Linked DNA regions of Homo sapiens: regions 1, 2 and 3 are each linked to region 4. Evidence: promoter capture Hi-C in 16 types of primary human blood cells and fetal thymus (Javierre and others, 2016). All regions are on one chromosome and are shown on one strand. The core of a region is centred on a gene start or on the middle of the fragment in contact, and the rest is flanking DNA. Distances in the headings are between cores, read along the strand shown.

Region 1 (3,378 bases), core at 737-3,236, 1.2 Mb after region 4:
ATGGAGACACTGAAAACATCAGTGGTGGCCAGGAGTTAGGGGAGATGGATGGATGGGCAGGGCACAGAGGATTTCAAGGCAGTGACACTACTGTATGTGATGCTACGATGGTAGACATGTGTCATCATACATTTGCCTAACTCATGAACACACCAAGCCAAGAGTGAGCCCTCATGGAAACTGTACTCCAAGTGATGATGGCATGTCAACAGAGGTTCATCAGTTGTGACGAAAATAGCACTCTGGTGGGGGAAGTTGTGAGGTAATATGGGAAATCTCTGCACATTCTGCTCTTTTGCTGAGAACCTAAAACTGCTCTAAAAAGCAACTCCTATTAAAAGACAACAACCAAATAACTATAGTTTCATCTGAAAGAAGGTGCTACATTCAGGAAACAAGAATAGGGTGCTTTAAGGAAGCGATGGCTCAGGATGATATATTAAGTATCAAAGTTGAAATAAAAAATCCTACAGTCAGGAAAAAACCATAAAGGAATGATGGGCAGGGAATGACCAGAGAAGCAGGAACACACAGAGGCTTCCAGGGAGAGGTGGTCCCTGACCTGCAGGCTGCCCTCTCCCCAGAGGAGTGACCAGAGGGGGCAAACCACAGAGAGGGAGGTCAACAGCCAACAGCAGCCCGACAAGGAAAAGAGTTTACACTCTCATGAACTGAACTAAACGTGCCCAACGAGCGCAGCCCTAAGCCCACCCATGCCACATAGCTGGGAGGGGTGGCATCTGGACACCTGTCACCCACCACCCCTGGGGAGACACTCAAGGAGGTAACCTTGTTGTGTCCCTCTTCTGACGGCTGAGGAGAAACAGGGCCATGAACTCCAACAGAACTGAAGCTAGAGGGTTTCAAGTATTATTACACAGATGCTGAATCCCACGGAGGATGGTCCCGCCCCACCTGACCCCTCAGAGTGGAGCTCCCTGGCCTGTGACGTTGTGTCACATCTCAGAAGGGAGACCAGAGTTGGATGACGTCACCCTTCAGTGCTGAGCTGGGGAAGAACAGAGCCGCCTCCAATGCCCTCAGCACTCAGAACAGTGGCGGACACACCAGACACCCAGCACAAGTGAAGAAAATTAACTCCTCCTGCAGACCTCGAGGACAGAGACCCCCACAATGAGAGCAAATAGAAAGACACAGAGGAGCCACCAAGCATATGCTTGGTAAGGGGAGCTGGGGCCCAGTAGGTCTGCAGACAAGCTCCAGACCAGGCAAGAAAGGATGAAGAGGAAAAAGCCCTGAGACACAGAAAGGACAGACAGCTGACCCTTGAATGATGCAAGGGCTAGGGACACTGGCCCCCACACAGTTGAAAACCCACCTTTAAGCTTTGACTCCCCAAAAGCTTAACTACTAACAGACTCCTGTTGACTGGAAGCCTTATGCATAACATACGCAGTCAAGTGGCACATATTTTTTATGTTTTATGCTATTATATACTGTATTACAATACGGTAAGCTACAAATCCCAGGAAGAAAATCCTAAGGAAGAGGAAATGTAGTTCCACTTCACTGAATGGAAATGGATCAACATAAACATCTTCATCCTCATGGTCTCCATGTTGAGTAGGCTGAGGAGGAGGAAGGAGAAGAAGGGTTGGTCTTGCCGTCTCAGGGTGGCAGAGGTGAAGGAAAATCCACGCATAAGTGACCTATGTAGTGCAAAGTCAGCTGTACTTTACACCACAAAACACTTATTAAGAATAGGAATTCAATTGAACTAGGACTCAAAGGGAAAAGGACAAGAGAGGACTATAGAAATATGGAAGGGAATTTGGGGACCAAAATCAACATCATTGTAAGGCTAACATGTGAACAGCAAAGTACTAACATAGAAGGCTCCAGAGAATCAAAGAATGTAGTTCTTAAGATGAAGAAATTAAAGCAGCTAGACAGAATGTAATGAATACATAAGACAGACTATGATGACTATATCTCTGAACTGGGACATGAAGATTTAAGCCTATTGAGCTAGGGTGGGCACACTTTTTCTGTAAAGGGCCAGTGAATAACTTAGGCTTGAGGGCCACACTCGTGCCACAACTCTACCACTCCAGACAAAAGCAGCCCCAGGCCGGGCACAGTGGCTCACACCTGTAATCCCTGCACTTTGGGAGGCCGAGGCGGGTGGATCACCTGAGGTCAGGAGTGTGAAAACAGCCTGGCCAATATGGTGAAACCCTGTCTCTACTAAAAATACAAAAATTAGCCGGGCATGGTGGCAGGCACCTGTAGTCCCAGCTATTTGGGAGGCTGAGGCGGGAGAATCTCTTGAACCCTGGAGGCAGAGGTTGCAATGAGCCAAGATTGTGCCATTGCACTCCAGCCTGGGCAACAAGAGCAAAACTCCGTCTCAAAAAAAAAAAAAAAAAAGAAGCCCCAGACCACCTGGAATCCAACGGGTGGGGTTCCCAGAGAATTTTATTATAAACACCGGCAATGGGCTGGGTCTGACCTCAGGGCCGTATTTCACCAACTCTGGTTCTAGATTTAAAGAGCCCACTAAGTGCCCAGAGATGTGATATGGAAAAAGCCCAAACTAAGACACATCAGCATGACATTTCACGACATCAAGAATAAAGAAAAGCTTCTGAGAAAAACACAGTTCACATACAAATAAGAACGGCACCAGACTTCTCAGAAAAGCTGGCAGCGAGAAAACAAAGTTGTGATGTGAACATTGTCGGTGACAATTTCCAAGCTAGATTTTTACACCCAGCCAGGATATCAGGTAAAGCCACTAGCAGAGACACAATGAGTCCAAAAATTCACCCCACGTAGCTCAGGAAGTCATTAAAAAGGTGTCCATCCCCTGAAACCAAAACACAGGAGTAAGCTGAAGAGAACAAGAACCGGGTCCGCCATAGCAGGGACAGCAGGCAGGCGGCCGCGAACCAGATCCACTCCACCGGGCGGAGGTTTCAGGGATCCAGGTCCCTGGAAGCTGGGCAAGGGAAACCCAAGGCTGTAAGCAGTCAAGGCCCTGACCCGGCATGAACATCACTGACAGTCGTGATGTCAGCACAGATGACTGAGCCAAATGCCAATGTGACCAGCTATGGGGAGACACAGGGAAACACAAGGTAAACAGAACTCGGGAGTGTCACCACAAGCTGTCACTCAGAAACACAGCTCTGCCACCAGGCGGGGCCCCTGAACCCCTTGTCCCTGCGGAGGGAGAAGGGTCACCAGATGGCCCACTTGGGAGGTGCCCACCTAGAGACGCCTCTGCTCTGATATGGTGGGCTGGCCCCCAGGCCTCCCCTGGATGAGTCGCTGACCCATCCCTGGGTGTTGAGCCAAGCCCTCCTCTGGGTGCCCTCCCCCGGGTGCTGGGCCCTGGGTGAGCTTCCCCTGGGT
Region 2 (3,075 bases), core at 212-2,711, 1.2 Mb after region 4:
CAGAACGCTCCCTGGACTGGGCTCCCATGCTGCCCCAGCAGCCGCTTTCCTGGAAAGGCACTCCCTGCTGTGGCGGCATAATCTCCTCCTTCTGGCTTCCAGCCATCCTAAGGACTGAACAGAGTCACCACCTTGCCCCCGGCCCACTGTTCGAGGAGATGCTAACAGAGGGCTTGACCTTCTGAGAACCGAGAGAATTCAGCCCCCGCCTGGCCTCTCGTAAGACACAAACCACCAGACGTGGGCCTGGGCTCTGGGCTGGGCCAGGTGGATGAAGGGGAGGCTGGTGGTCCAGGCGGCTGCTCTTGGCTGCAGGGTTTCTGGGCACACATCCGGGTAGCACGCATCCTGGCCTTCAGCAACCTCGTTTTAAATGGGACCACACCAGGAGCAGCCAGGGCGCTTTCATTTTCACTTTCTTTCCCCGGGGGGGACAGGAACATTCCTTTACCTCCTGAGGAAATCGGGCTCTTCCAGAGCCACAGAGGAGTGAAGGCCCCAGCCCTTCACGATGCTGCGCGGCTATGTTTGGGTCTGTCCATCAGGGAGAAAGAAAAACCGGCCGAGTCTTGCACAGGGTCCTCGACAGCAACCCCAGGTAAAGAGCAGAGCAAGCCTGAGACAGGAAGGGGCCATGAGCCCAAAGACAGCAGAGCAGGACCCAGCCCGGGGCCTCAGGACCGACCTCTTTCATGCAAAGACGAAACCGAGGCCCACCACACGCAGGGTCAAAATCAACTTTGAGGCACCTGCTTCCCACACCAGTCCTTACTGGGGCATACTTCTAAGGCGACGCTCAAGAATGGCAGCAGGGCAGCTTCAAGAACCCCAACCCGGACTCTGGCTTTGGAGAATCCGAACCCCAAATGCCACACCCATGCGTCGGGAAGGCCTGCTGTTTCCCCAAGTCCCCGTCTCTGCGCCGTGCCGCGGAGTAGGCAGAATCCTGGGAGCCCCGGAATAGCCGGCTCCATCCGCCCAGGACCCCAAGGCTTGCAGGGTGAGGTGGGAACCGGAGCGCACACCGCGCCGGGCCAGCGGTAGGGACTCCCAGCTGCTCTCTTTGGCGGCGCGCCCAGGTGTCGGGAAGACACCGAGCGCTCCTATACGCCCGGGGAGCAGCTCGACACTGCGATAACTGCCGGCCTGCCCAGCTCCTGAGGAGCGCCCCGCCCTCCGGGACCCGGGCTCCGCTGCGTTGCCAGCCCGTCCGCCCTCCAGAGCTCCCCCGTTCTCAGGGCCCACAGTTGAATGCGGCACAGGGCGTCTCGGCTAGGAGGAGATCCGGAGGCGGCGTGGACTGGGCGACCGCAAAGCGCAGGGACCGCTGCCGCCTCGACCCGAGTCACCCTCGCGATCGCGCTTGTCGTACTCACCGTCCGGTGGGGCCCGGCCCAGGGCGGCCGCAGCCAGCCCGGCCAGCGGGCGCCGCAGCATCCGGGGCCACCTCTTCCGCCCACTGAACCTACGTGACAGCGCCGCACCGGCCCACCTCCGCCCGCGCGCGAGACTGACGTCATGAGGCGACTGCCCCGCCCATGTCTCACTCGTTCTTCCCCGCCCCTTAGGGAAGTACTTACCTCAGTGCCTCGCTAGCCCCGCCTCCACCTGCGCTGGCCTGTCGCGACCGCAGGGGCGTTCAGCACAGCGCCCTCCCAGCCCGTCTTCTCCCGCTGCGTCACAGCGCCACGCCGGCCCGCCTCCACACAGCGCGAACTAACATCACGACCCGCCGGCCCCGCCCACGGCGTACTTGTCCCGCTTGTCACTCAGAGAAGTACCTCAGTGCAGCGCGGGCCCGGCTTTCATCTGCTACGTCACAGCGCTGCCTCAGCCCGCCTCCTCCCGCTTATGTCACAGCGCCGTTTCCGTCCTCCATCTACACTGCAGGGACCTAACTAACGAACGACTCCGCTAGCCCGTTCCAAACCGGCCACTCTCCAAAAACCATTAATTGGGGAATGTGGCCGGGCGCGTGGTTCACGTCTGTGATCCCAGCTCTTTGGGAGTCCGAGCCGGGAGGACCGCTTGAGGCCAGGAATTGGAGACCAGCCTGGGGATCATAGGGAAACCCCTTCTGTACCAAAAAATTTAAAAACTTTTTTGTGCCTGTAGTCCTTGCTACTCGGGAGGCTGACGTGGGACGGTCGCTTGAGCCTGGGCAGTCGAGGCTGCAGTGAGCGGTGTTCGTGTCACTGCACTCCAGTCTGTGTGACAGAGCGAGACCCTATTTCTTTCTTTTTTTATTTTTTGAGACGGAGTTTCGCTCTTGTCACCCAGGCTGGAGTTCAGTGACGCCATCTCTGCTCACTGCAACCTGGGCCTCCTAGGTTCAAGCGATTCTCCTGCCTCAGCCTCCCGAGTAGCTGGGATTACAGGCGCCCGCCACCACGCCCAGCTAATTTTTGTATTTTTAGTAGAGACAGGGTTTCACCATGTTGGCCAGGCTGGTCTTGAACTCCTAACCTCAGGTAATCCACCAACCTTGGCCTCCCAAAGTGCTGGGATTACAGGCGTGAGCCACTGCACCTGGCCACGGGACTCTATTTCTAAAAATTATTTTAAATTTTTAAAAAAGATTTATTGAAGGCTGGGTGCAGTGGCTCACACCTGTAATGCCAGCACTTTGGGAGTCCGAGGCAGGCAGATCACCTGAGGCCAGGAGTTTGGGACTAGCCTGGCCAAAATGGTGAAACTCTGTCTCTACTAAAAATACAAAATCAGCTGGGTGTGGTCGTGGGCCCCTGTAATTCCAGCTACTGGGGTGGCTGAGGCAGGAGGATCACTTGAACCTGGGAGGTGGAGGTTGCAGTGAGCCGAGATCAAGCCACGGCACTCCAGCCTAGACGACAGAATGAGACTCCGTCTCAAAAAAAAAAAAAAAAAGTATTGAATGTGAACTGCAGGAGAGCAAGAAAAAAAGTAAAACTTTAAAAAATACAACTTCAAAAAAATGTGTTGGGGCTGGGCACCATGGCTCATGCCTGCAGTCCCAGCACTTTTGGAGGCCAAGGCGGATGGATCACTTGCCCCGGAGTTGGAGACCAGCCTGGGCAACATGGCAAAGCCTTGTCT
Region 3 (3,063 bases), core at 76-2,575, 1.2 Mb after region 4:
GGCAGTGAGAGAAATGAAGTTCTCTCTAGGTATGTCCGTGGGGGAGGGGGTTGGTGAATGGAATTTATATGAGGGTTTGAGGAATCTGGCTCAGGCTGAGTCCAGTTTCTTTCTGTGTTTTGAGCAACAACCTAGTTACTGTCATCTGTGCCTGGGAACGTTCATGGCTATGGCTCGGGTTCAAGTCTGCAGAGGAAATTATACAGTTGGCGAAGTCACAGAGTGGCCAAGGGACTCTGTTTCTCAGTCAGCACTGGGAATGAAAGTGGAAAGGGGAAGCAGGGGTACGTCACAACCTCCAAAATCAGGGTGCCCAGCACGCTGAGGTTCTGGTAAGGGGTTTCTTCCAGACTGCAGACTTCCTTCCCGCTGCCTTCACACAGTAGAAAGCTGCACAAAGCTCTTGGGGTCCCTTTTATGAAGGCTCTGTCCTCATGACCTAGTCACCTCCGAAGCACCAACGCCTTGGGGTGAGGATTTCACATGGGAGTTAGGGTGCACATTCAGTTTAACACGGCAGGGATAGGACCAGTGCTCTGAGGGTGTCTGGGTAGCTGCTGGTTCATCCAGAAGTTTACTGGGTAATACTCAGAAATTCCACAAATCATTAAGGTCATTACCTTGTTAAGCTCCCGATATGGAATCGCGACTAGCAGTGACCAATTGGCGGTGTTAACTAGGCGCATCTTGTGTGTTTTCTTTTTTCTTTTTTTATGAGACAGGGTCCGCTCACTCGTTCAGGTTGGAGTGCAGTGGCGCGAAGTCCTGGGTTCGAGATCCTCCCGCCTCAGCCTCAAAGCGTTGGGGCTACAGGGGCGCGCGCGCGCCTGGCCCATTTTAACTTCTTATTTTTGAGACAGTCTCGCTCTGTCGCCCAGGCGGGAGTGCAGTGGCGCGATCTCGGCTCACTGCAACCTCTGCCTCCCGGCTCAAGTGATTCTCCTGCTTCAGCCTCCTGAGTAGCTGGAATTACAGGTGTGCACCACCACACCCGGCTAATTTTTGTATTTGAGTAGAGACCGGGTTTCACCATGTTGGACAGGCTAGTCTCGAACTCCCGACCTCAAGCGATCCGCCCGCCTCGGCCTCCCAACTTGCTGGGATTACAGGCGAGAGCCACTCCGCCCGGCCCCGTTTTAACCATTTTTAAACTTCCAGTTCAGAGGCGTTCCCGCGCCCGGCAGGGTAGGCGCAGTGCGCAGGCGCCCAAAGCCGACGTGGAGGTGATGCGCGGGAGCACAGATCCGGGGCAGTGCGCTGCGCAGAGGCGCGCGGCGAAGCCGAGTGGGCGCGGGAGTGACGTCACGGCGCGCGACGCGGAGGCGGGGTCGGGCCTGGGTCCGACGGTAGTGGGTAGCGGGTCTCGGGTTGCGGGTTGCAGGTTGCAAGCCGCAGGCCCCAGGCAACTGCCTTCCCGGCGCCATGTTCGGCTCCAGTCGTGGAGGCGTGCGCGGCGGGCAGGACCAGTTCAACTGGGAGGACGTGAAGACTGACAAGCAGCGGGAGAACTACCTGGGTGGGTGCGCGCGGTGGGCGGGCTCCGGGCTCCGGGCTCCGGGATCCCGGGCGGGCGCTGGACTCACAGCGTCTACGTCCGCAGGCAACTCGCTGATGGCGCCGGTAGGCCGCTGGCAGAAGGGCCGCGACCTCACCTGGTACGCCAAGGGCCGGGCGCCATGCGCGGGCCCGAGCCGCGAGGAGGAACTGGCAGCCGTGCGGGAGGCGGAGCGCGAGGCGCTGCTGGCCGCCCTGTGAGTGTCCGCGGACGGCAGCGGTCGGTGCCTGGGACGGCGCTGCCGGGGCAGGGTGGGGCCGGGGCCGGGGACTGGGGGTCGGGCTGGGCGGGAGCGGGGCTGCGGGGACTCGCGCGGGCGGGACCCTGAGGACGAAGGCTGGAGTGGTGAGGACCTGTGGTGGGAGGAGGTCCGTCCGTCCTGACGCCTGCCCCGGCCCTCTCGCAGTGGCTACAAGAACGTGAAGAAGCAGCCCACGGGCCTGAGCAAGGAGGTAACTCCCCGGGGTGGGGGGCGCGTGGAGGGCCGTGGGTGTGGGGCCGACTCGAGCGCTCCCTGTGCTCTCGCACCTGCAGGACTTCGCGGAGGTCTGCAAGCGGGAAGGAGGCGACCCCGAGGAGAAGGGCGTGGACCGGCTGCTGGGGCTGGGGAGCGCAAGGTGCGGGCGGGTTTCCAGGGGAGGGCAGCACTGGGCTCGATTGCTCGGGTGAGGCGGACCCCTGCCGTACTGTCTTCATCGCCATGTCCCTGCAGTGGCTCCGTGGGCCGCGTGGCGATGTCCCGAGAGGACAAGGAGGCCGCCAAACTGGGGCTGTCTGTGTTCACGGTAATCCCCCGCCCCGCCTGACCGCAGCAGGGGCTAACAGGGGTGGGGCGGGGCGGGGGCACTGAACGGAGCTCCCCGGGGCGCTGCGGGGCGTGGTGTGGGGCCGGCCCGCAGACTCCTCCGCAGAGCTCGCTTCTCCCGCAGCATCACCGCGTAGAGAGCGGCGGGCCCGGGACCTCGGCAGCCTCGGCCAGGAGGAAGCCGCGGGCGGAGGATCAGACGGAAAGCAGGTGAGGCTGTGCCACCTGGGCTAGCTGTGCCCCGGGGTGGGGGGTCTCGGGAGGACCGGAGCGGCTCCCACTCGGGCAGGTGGCAGCTTCTCTTGGCGCACCGGCCCGGCGGGTGGCCTGCCCTACTTTACTTCCTGTCCCAGTTACTCCTAGGTTTTTCTCTAGGGGAGTTTCTCGGGTCACCCTTGAAGAGAGGTCCTAAGTACTGGCAGTGGTCGGGCGCTGTGCCGTGGGAGGGCACTCAGGACCTGGGGCGGGGCCTTTTCCTGCCGTGGGTGGCACCTCCAGGGCTTCTCCTGGATGGTGAGCCTGGGCCTGACCCTAAGAGTGGCCTGGTGGGTGCAGGTAGGAAGGTGTCAACCTGCCAAGGGCACGGCTGGGGTGGGGCAGGGGCGTGCTGTGGAGATGGGGATATTGCATCTGTTTCTAACCCACGTAGCCACTGGCCACGTGACTACGTAACTGAGGAGTGGAATTTGTAGTTTGATTTAAC
Region 4 (3,332 bases), core at 102-2,601:
GAGCAGACGGTCTGACCCGCCCCATTTGGGCCAGTAGCCGCCTCTGAATCATTTAGCTATGATGAGGTGGGCGGTGGTGGTGGGAGGCAGGATGCGGACACGTAGAAAGTAGGTGAATTCGTGGGAATCCTGACGTGGAAGCCGTGAGCGCTACTCACGGCCTGGGCTTGCTTTTTAACTGCTATATATATATTTAGATTTTCCAAAAGTTTTTTCCTTTCAAATCTTTTTGCAGCTACTGTATCAAGGCTCTTTTTTTAAGAAAGGGAAAATAGTGCAGGACCACTTCTGAAACTGTAACAAATGGGGCAACGTTGTATTCTTCTGTACAATGTAACTGGATCTGTGAAGGTTTTTATTTTTTATTTTTTATTTTTTTTGAGACGGAGTCTTGCTCTGTCGCCCAGGCTGGAGTGCAGTGGCGCAATCTAGGCTCACTGCAAGCTCCGCCTCCCGGGTTCACGCCATTCTCCTGCCTCAGGCTCCCGAGTAGCTGGGACTACAGCCGTTCACCACCACGCCGGGCTAATTCTTTTTATTTTTATTTTTTTAGTAGAGATGGGGTTTCACTGTGTTAGCCAGGATGGTCTCGATCTCCTGACCTCGTGAGCCACCCGCCTCGGCCTCCCAAAATGCTGGGATTACAGGCGTGAGCCACAGCGCTCAGCCGGATCTGTGGAGGTTTTATGAGCAAAAAGGGAAAACAGTGCGGGGCCACTTTTGAAACTGTAACAAATGGGGCAACGTTGTATACTTCTGCACAAAGTAACTGGATCTGTGAAGGTTTTATGTGTAAAAAGGGAAAAGAGTGTGGGGCCACTTTTGAAACTGTAACAAATGGGACAACTTTGTATACTTCTGCACAACGTAAGTTAATCTGTCAAGCTTTTATGTGCAAACGAATCTCTGAGCGAGTGAAATGGTTTTGATCAAAATCTAAAAGAATTTGGGGAGTGTAGATATAAAAGGGAGTTAAAGCCAGAGTAACAGGTGTTGTGAACACAGAGAGGAAGAACCGGTAGGTTTCGAGTGAGGACAGAGAGTGTCGCCCCCGGCCGCAGCCTGGGGGGGCTGCATATCTGGAGGGATCATCTCTTGCCCCTAACTGACGACTCCTGCAGAGTGACGCGTGCCTGGGACAGCGTCTGCTGGGACCAGGGTGGACGGGCACCTCAAATAAGTGGGCCAGGGACCTGGGCCTGGGCCCCTCGGACTGGCAGGCACGCCCGCACCCCCGCGCCTCGCGCTCTCTACGGAAGCAGCCGCCCCCACGGAGCGGGCGGAGGCCCGGGGGCCGGGAGCGCGCGTGGAGGCTCCGGGACTGAGGCGGCGCCACCGCCTCCCGCCTGCAGCTGGAGCGCGGGCCGCCGCGGCGACATCTTGCTCAGGAGGAAAGCGCGCGGGAGAGCGAGCTGCGCTTTAGCTGCTGCGCCACGCGCGCCTCGGGCCTGGGCGCAGAGGATCGGCCGGGCGCGGCGGGAAGGAGGTAAGGCAGCCCCGCGGGACCGCACGCCTAGCTCAGGGGACGCCTCCGGAGACCCCAGGACCACCCGATCACGGGCCCCGCCGCTCCCCTCCCTCGCTCCTCCTCCCGCTCAGCCCCAGTCTCCTGCGGTCCCCTCGCCCCAGCCCGCAGCCTCCCTGCCTTCCGCCCACTGAGCAGCCCTCCTCGGCGGCGCGCCCCTCGACCCCAGCAGCCCCGGTCCCCGCCTCTGCTCTTGGTCCCGGCCGCCGGGTGAGGCCGCCCCCGCCCCGCCCCCTCCCCGCCCTCGCCGGGACCCGCCCCCTGCTCCCGTCCGGGCGGGGCTCCGGGTTTAAACGTCGCGGCGGGCAGGGCCGGCGGAGGGGCGGGGCGGCCTCTGTGTCGTGTACCGGGTCCCGTAGGCTGCGGGCAGCGAGGAGCGGCTGGCGCTCGAGGCGGCGGACGGCACCATGTCCCCGGGGAGCGGGGTGAAGAGCGAGTACATGAAGCGCTACCAGGAGCCGCGCTGGGAGGAGTACGGGCCGTGCTACCGCGAGCTGCTGCACTACCGCCTAGGCCGCCGGCTGCTGGAGCAGGCGCACGCGCCCTGGCTCTGGGACGACTGGGGCCCGGCCGGCTCCTCGGAGGACTCGGCGTCGTCAGAGTCGTCGGGCGCCGGGGGCCCCGCACCCCGGTGCGCCCCGCCCTCGCCCCCGCCGCCCGTAGAGCCGGCGACCCAGGAGGAGGCGGAACGGCGGGCGCGCGGGGCCCCGGAGGAGCAGGACGCGGAGGCCGGGGACGCGGAGGCCGAGGACGCGGAGGACGCGGCTCTGCCAGGTACCCGGCCCGGAGGGGAGCGCGAGGGGCCTGCACGCAGGGACGGTTTGCTCTAAGCTCTGAGCAGCTGATCTCTTATTTCTTGCGCCACTCGGGGCTGGCTCTTCCTTTTTTTTTTTTCGGTTGACAGAATCCGTCTCTCTTGACAAAATAGGGAAGGTGGCAGCCTTTGCCACCCTTTATTTCCTTAATTAGGTGGCTTTCGGTCGAGCCAGCGGTGAACTCAATTGAAGCGCCGCTGGCTGAGTCTGGGGTCTTTCCTCGCGGGCCTCTGCGGCTTGGCAAACCTCTGAATCCCATCTTATTTCTTGGCGAACCACTGAGTCCCATCTGCTTATTTCTAGGCGCCCATTTTTGATCAGAGGAGCCCCAGCTTTAATCAGATTCTCAAAGGTAACCCAAAAGGTTAAGAACCACAGAGCTAAGCTTTGTCTGATGAATGGGGCCATTGTTTTCCGTATTAACTCCCCGACCTCGCTACGCTGTCCCTAAAGAATATTTTGCATTTGTTTACGTGGAGTGTTGAATAACTTGGCTGTGAGAGCATCTTTATAAGTGCTAGGGCCTCTCCCCTTCCGTCCCTCCCCATCCTCCCTCGCCTGTCCAGATCCGAAAGCGCCGGTGGCGCTGCGCGTGTTTTCAAGGCATGGCCCCTTCACCTTCTTTCCTGCCCAGAGGCTTGCAGGGCTGGGGACCCAGTTGAACGCCTCAGTACAGCCTGGAGTAACCAATGGTTCCTTCCAGATCACTGGATTTTAAAAAGGCTCGAGTGAGGAAAACATGGAAAATGTATTGGGAGCCTGTTAGACATTCAGTCACTGATCTGGGAATATGTATGTTGTCATTTAATATTCAAAACAATCCCAAAAGAGACCATGTTGTAATCTTTTTTTTTTTTTTTTTTTGAGACGGAGTCTCGCTCTGTGGCCCAGGCTGGAGCGCAGTGGCGCGATCTCGGCTCACTGCAACCTCTGCCTCCCGGATTCACGTCATTCTCCTGCCTCAGCCTCCCGAGTAGCTGGGATTACAGGCA

The links. Contacts are between HindIII fragments. The CHiCAGO score rates a contact against its expected background, and 5 or more counts as called.
Region 1: a fragment that was not itself captured here is called in contact with the fragment with the promoter of CCSAP in region 4 in 2 of 17 cell types (non-activated CD4 T cells and naive CD8 T cells); the score reaches 5.4 in non-activated CD4 T cells.
Region 2: the fragment with the promoter of GUK1 here is called in contact with the fragment with the promoter of CCSAP in region 4 in 10 of 17 cell types (total B cells, neutrophils, fetal thymus and 7 more); the score reaches 13.1 in total B cells.
Region 3: a contact is called between the fragment with the promoter of C1orf35 here and the fragment with the promoter of CCSAP in region 4, in 10 of 17 cell types (neutrophils, total B cells, fetal thymus and 7 more). The highest score is 16.9, in neutrophils.

Annotation. Positions count from the first base shown.
Region 1 is chr1:228,166,369-228,169,746 of GRCh38, reverse strand. All of the region lies in intron 1 of IBA57 (iron-sulfur cluster assembly factor IBA57), which reads right to left. Among named protein-coding and RNA genes, the nearest start is that of IBA57, 2.3 kb to the right of the region's middle. RefSeq lists a silencer at 3,312-3,378. The HindIII fragment of the contact is 1,242 bases long and covers 1,366-2,607 here.
Region 2 is chr1:228,138,665-228,141,739 of GRCh38, reverse strand. It overlaps GUK1 (guanylate kinase 1), which reads right to left and starts at 1,461. Exons shown (of 8, transcript NM_001159390.2): 1 at 1,377-1,461. The coding sequence starts at 1,437. RefSeq lists a silencer at 875-1,434 and enhancers at 1,445-1,674, 1,785-1,834. The HindIII fragment of the contact is 28,593 bases long and covers 1-3,075 here.
Region 3 is chr1:228,101,587-228,104,649 of GRCh38, reverse strand. C1orf35 (chromosome 1 open reading frame 35) reads left to right here and starts at 1,325. Exons shown (of 8, transcript NM_024319.4): 1 at 1,325-1,516; 2 at 1,601-1,751; 3 at 1,962-2,007; 4 at 2,090-2,172; 5 at 2,268-2,340; 6 at 2,485-2,570. The coding sequence starts at 1,423. RefSeq lists enhancers at 398-1,117, 1,118-1,838, 1,839-2,558, 2,559-3,063 and silencers at 1,561-1,830, 1,991-2,160, 2,411-2,490. The HindIII fragment of the contact is 8,620 bases long and covers 1-3,063 here.
Region 4 is chr1:229,341,066-229,344,397 of GRCh38, reverse strand. CCSAP (centriole, cilia and spindle associated protein) reads left to right here and starts at 1,351. Exons shown (of 4, transcript NM_145257.5): 1 at 1,351-1,486; 2 at 1,885-2,299. The coding sequence starts at 1,933. RefSeq lists silencers at 1-196, 1,043-1,902, 2,103-2,302. The HindIII fragment of the contact is 1,840 bases long and covers 888-2,727 here.